Linked DNA regions of Homo sapiens: region 1 is linked to region 2. The links are contacts of gene promoters, found by promoter capture Hi-C in human tissues and cell types (Jung and others, 2019). All regions are on one chromosome and are shown on one strand. Each heading gives the region's core, a stretch centred on a gene start or on the middle of the fragment in contact. The rest is flanking DNA. Distances are from core to core; before and after follow the strand shown. Region 1 overlaps TACC1 (transforming acidic coiled-coil containing protein 1). Region 2 holds the start of BAG4 (BAG cochaperone 4).

The links. Contacts are between HindIII fragments. The study calls those that stand out against the background at their distance.
Region 1: a contact is called between a fragment that was not itself captured here and the fragment with the promoter of BAG4 in region 2, in 1 of the 25 tissues and cell types used here (dorsolateral prefrontal cortex).

The regions. Positions count from the first base shown.
Region 1 is chr8:38,790,046-38,792,745 of GRCh38, reverse strand. All of the region lies in intron 2 of TACC1 (transforming acidic coiled-coil containing protein 1), which reads right to left. Among named protein-coding and RNA genes, the nearest start is that of TACC1, 4.2 kb to the right of the region's middle. The HindIII fragment of the contact is 3,949 bases long and covers 1-2,700 here.
Region 2 is chr8:38,175,523-38,178,222 of GRCh38, reverse strand. It overlaps BAG4 (BAG cochaperone 4), which reads right to left and starts at 1,368. Exons shown (of 5, transcript NM_004874.4): 1 at 1,084-1,368. The coding sequence starts at 1,353. It overlaps LSM1 (LSM1 homolog, mRNA degradation associated), which reads left to right and starts at 1,730. Exons shown (of 4, transcript NM_014462.3): 1 at 1,730-1,948. The coding sequence starts at 1,903. RefSeq lists enhancers at 426-765, 1,676-1,825, 1,047-1,904, 2,236-2,325, 1,905-2,700. The HindIII fragment of the contact is 1,071 bases long and covers 481-1,551 here.

The DNA.
Region 1 (2,700 bases), core at 78-2,577, 610 kb before region 2:
CGCCTGTAATCCCAGCACTTTGGGAGGCCAAGGCGGGCGGATCACGAGGTCAGGAGATCGAGACCATCCTGGCTAACACGGTGAAACCCCGTCTCTACTAAAAATACAAAAAATTAGCTGGGCGTAGTGGTGGGCGCCTGTGGTCCTAGCTACTTGGGAGGCTGAGGCAGAAGAATGGCGTGAACCCAGGAGGCGGAGCTTGCAGTGAGCCGAGATCGCACCACTGCATTTCAGCCAGGGCAACAGAGCGAGACTCTATCTCAAAAAACAAAACAAAACAAAAAATTAGCCAGGCATGGTAGTGTGTGCCTATAGTCCCAGCTACTCAGGAGGCTGAGGCAGGAGGATCATCTGAGCCCAGGAGTTGGAGGCTGCAGTAAGCTATGATCATACTACTGCACTCCAGTCTAGACATAGATCCTGTCTCAAAGCAAAACAAAACAGAGGATGAACTTGAGATTGTACCTCCTCAAAAGTCCATTCCTAGAGGATGTTTCTTCACCAATATATTTCCCAGCAAAGAGAAAGACCACCACAACAGCAGCAGCATTAAACAACTTTAGTGGGAGAAAACAGACAGATAGCAAATACAGACCAGCCCAAGCTTTACAGCTACCAGTCTGGTTATTTCCAGGAAATATCTTTAGCTAGAGTTTTATTTTACCAGTAAGCCTAAAACCTGCTTCTATATGTGGCTTCAAAAAAAATCTACAACCTTATCCGCCACTTAACTCCTGGCATACAACTCTTAGGAAGAGTCATTATAGAGTTTAGATACTGCAAGTTCCTAAAGCAGTTCCAGTATAAGAAAAGTCATTTCAAAATAGTCTTAGATGTTTCCCTGAGTTCAAAGAACTATACAGAAGTCAGCACAGGAGCCATGGGTATGGTAAATGTAGCCCACACGTTTGAGGGCCATTATGTACCAGGAAGCCAGAATGTTTACATATTTCAACTCCAACTCCTGACTAACTCCTCGTAAATCATTCTTCCAGAATGATTTAGTCTTATATAATTTATAACTGCGGTCCAACCATGTCTTGGAACCACAAAAGTATGAAAGACTATCTTTACCAGGAACAAAACAATCAATAATTTTGGGAGAAAGGGAACTTATCCAGTCCCAGAAATTAAACTTCAATATGAAATGACTCTGAAGGGCTTTCTGCCCACTGAAATCCTCTCCAGGCAGACCTGTGCTCTGGCTGTCTTTGCACATTTGCTGTGTATGTGTGACAAGGCCATTGGCGGTACTCTGGACTAGCTCCGGATGTTGCACCCAAGGACCCTGGAAGTCAGGGTACGACCAGGTTGATGAGCAATCATCCTATTGTTTAAAGACCCTAAACTGAAAGCCTTCATAATATGCAGGGTTGTTTCCTGGACTGGACACTCCTCTACCCCTACAATTACAGTCTGCATTCATGAACTACCCCATAGAGCCTTCATGATCCATAAACATTTAAAAGTTTTCCTTTTAGAGAGAATGAAAAAAATGTGAGAGTCACTGGTACAGGAAGGACCAAACAATTGGGTCTCTGTGGTTTTGGGGGCCTAGGTCATCCAGGCCTCTATTCAATTGGCAAAGAATCTGGCGGGATGAATCAGTCTAGCAGCTGACAAAACGATGAGGAAGGGCCGCCCAAGCTGATGGCAATTCAAAAAGGCTTTCAAACAGCTCCTTAACATGTGTCTTATGAGCTTTATTTAAATTTGATGGAAAGGCCACCAAATAGTTCTTTCAAGCTTCAAAATCTCCCTTCTGATCTGCCAATCTTTACGGAAGAAAAGGGAAGCTATGAGGAATAAGTGTTATCTTCATCACTGAGAGTGCTACACAGCTATGCGTCGCACACAAATTCTCCAGTATATAAGCTTGCCTATTCCCATGTTGTCCCTGCCTAGAACAATGGCAAAATGCAGCCTAGGGCAAGTTGAGGGTATTGCTGAATTCTCAGCTGGGTAAGCACAGCATGGAGCTATCAATTTAAAGCAAAACCAAATCAGCTTTTTGCTGATGTCATTTTACCAATAATTCCAGCTCCATCATGCAGTCTATTACCAGAGTAACTTGACTTCCCTAGGCAACCTACGAAGAAGTTGCTAAGCAATAAAAATACTTATTAGGGAGAGGAGAAAGTCACAATCAGCACAAAGTTTAGGTAGCTAGATAACTGAAAGCTGGCGCTGCCACTTCAGGGTGACAGTGCCAGATACTGGAACAGAGAAACCACATAAAAAGGACTTCCATCCTAGAGTCCCTTCTCCACACAGCAGCCCAGGGAGCCTTTTACAAAAGAAGCTGAATCACAATCCCTCTGTTCAAAGCTCTCTGTTGTGGGCTGAATTATGTCTCTCAAAATGATATGTTAAAGTCCCAACTCCTAGTACCTATGAATGTGACCTTATCTAGAAATAGTATCTCTGAAGATGTTACCAAGTTAAGATGAGGTCAAACTGGATTAGGGTGGGCCCTAACTTCAACGACTGGTGTCCTCACAGGAAGGGCACGGTAAGACAGATACATAGGGAGAAGATGGCCATGTGTTGAGACAGAGACTGGAGTTCTGCTGCCACAAGCCAAAGAACACAAAGGATTGCAGACACCCAGCAGAGGCTAGAAGAGGCAAGGACAGACTTCCTGGAGCCTTCAGAAGAGCAAGGCCCTGCCAACACCTTGACTTGAGACTTCTGGTTCTG
Region 2 (2,700 bases), core at 119-2,618:
GATGGCACCACTGCACTCCAGCCTGGGCAACAGAGCGAGACTCCAACTCAAAAAAAAAAAAAACAAAAAAAACGACATTTCTACTTTTTGGCGATTATGAATAATGATGCTATGAACATGGGCGGACAAGCTTTATGTGAACATACGTTATCAGTTTTCTTGGGTATATAGCCAGGAGTGGGCTTGCTGGGTCATAGACTAATTCTAATGCTTAATGTTTTGAGGAACTACCAAACTATTTTCCACCATTTTACATCCCCACCAGCAATGTACGAGAATTTCACTATTACATTTTCAACAAATGAGGATAATTCTTGAACGAACAGAGAGGTATGCTGCCACCGCAGAACGACAACCCACTACCCAGAAGACTGTATTAACAAAGCAGAAGTATATGTCCGGCAGGAAAACGGAGAATAAAATGTTGCAGGTCCAAGTGTATTAGGCAAGTGAGTTAACCTCGCAGAGCCCCGGTTCCTTATTCGAAAACAAAAAAAAGGGCCGCTGTAATGCCATTTTACCTTGCAGTCGCCGTGAAAATTAAATCAGTCAATCCGCGTAAAGGTACTTTACAACACTGATTATTCATGATTCGATCTCAGGCAAGGCATTAGGGGCAAACAGCTAAATGCCCAGATCCCTCCTCCTCGCAAAGGTTCCTTCCCCTCGGGAGGGTCCCTGAGCGGCATCGGGGGCTGCAGCCACTTCCCTTCCCCGGGAGAGCCGGCCTGCCAGCCACGCAGGATAAATTGCTAGAGCTGGAGCAGTAGATCCGTGCCACCCCTACCCAGCACCGCTCCCAGGAGAGAGATCTGCAGCCTGCTGCTAAGCTTAGTAAGTCCGCGCAGGATCTTTCTTTTTTAAATGGTAATAAACATATTTTTTGGGGTCGAAGCAGAAAAGGAGGGGCAAAGGGAACACAAGCATGTCCCCCCAACCTCTGATCTTAGTCTCGGTCTCTCCAACACCCCCCGCAACACACCCTCCTCCACATAAGGAAAACAAGTATGAAACCCGATCCTTTACGAACCCCAGCCCCAAGGGCCCTCACCTCCCCGCAAGGACAGAGGGTGCAAAGCTTACCTGGTGGCTTCCTCCGGCTCGACCAGGCTCTGGCCAGGCGCCTCCCGAGGGATAGTAGCCATCGCCTCCTCCGCCTTCTCCCAGCCAGGTGGTCTCCGCCGGGCCGCCCCCGCGCACCCGCCAGGAAATGGGAGGCTGGGGAGGTTCAGGGCGAAGAGGATATAAGGGTGGAGGTGGGTGTACCGGCACATCTCCACCCCCAGGCCCGTAGTAGCGGCCGTAGGACGGACCGTCACTGGGGCCGTAGCCCGAGCGCCTCAGGGCCGACATGGGATCCGCTGCCCTGAAGCGCTTCCCGCCCCGCTCCCCACGGCCGACCCATCGCGCAGGCGCCCGCGGGCGATTGCGAATGGAGAGCAGCGAAGGGGGTCGGACGACGCCAGCCAATCCCAGGCCCGGGCCCGCCCCTTCTGCTGCCGAACCCCGAAAGCTGAGGGACGGAGGTCAGTGACTCTGGGGTCTCGGGAACCCGGAGACGAAGGAAGACACCGTGTTCCTTAAGAGGGAGTATACGTTTCCTCGCCATTTATCCAATGGAGTTTCCTCTTACCTACTTAACAGGAACAGGGAAAGGGTGTCCCCCAACGGTACGGCTGCCCCGCCTCTTCCTGGGGGCCCACACGTGTTACAGGAAGTGGGTAAGGGTAATATGGAGGAGCTTCCGGCAGCCCCCGGCGGCTGAAAGCCGGGGCAGAAGTGCTGGTCTCGGTCGGGATTCCGGGCTTGGTCCCACCGAGGCGGCGACTGCGGTAGGAGGGAAGAGGTTTTGGACGCGCTGGCCTCCCGCCGCTGTGCATTGCAGCATTATTTCAGTTCAAAATGAACTATATGCCTGGCACCGCCAGCCTCATCGAGGACATTGACAGTGAGTAGTTTATCTCCTCCCGGTGGAGCCCGGGGTTAGACCCTTCCTCCCGGGCGGGCGCCTCTTCCGAAGAAGCTTGTAGAATGAGTCCCGGGCGGGGCCGGTGTGTTCTGAGCTCAATCCGGGCGTTCCGCGTCGATGTCCTCCACAGCTGCGGTACACACCGCTTGCCCACCCAGTAGCCTGCTGCTACTTCTGCCCCTCGCAGCCTCCGCCAGCCCTCTAGCTGGTGAGCCCCAAGCGATGGAACTCATTCTTGCTTCCGTGGATCGCGGCAGCAGAGGCCCGAACACGAAAGAAGCCCGGGGAGGGGGGGGGCTTCTCCCCCGTCCACTCCTGCCTGCAGTATTTCGAAGTATCAGCGTGTTACCGGTGGATGGATCGGAATACCTAGAGAGAGGATTCATTAAAAAGCGAAAATATTAAGACAGCGGCAGTTGGACTTAATTGGCAGTAAATGTAGGCGCTCTACGGTGTGGCCATTTGCTAGCTTATTTTACTGTGAGGGTCATTAGCACCTTCAGGTTATTGTAGTAGAGACCACTGTTAGACATGGTATTGACTTTTCTGGAAAGACCAAATCACTTGCAACCTTTTTTTTTTTTTTAAGACAATTTACTTTTGCTTTTACTAAGAAGACCTCCCTTATTCCTGGTTTTTGTCCGGAAGAGGAGCTCAGTCCTATACAAAAGCGAAAAGAACCGTCTGCAGTTGTTCTGGCTTTCCTTTTTTCTAAATTCCGTCTGTGCATT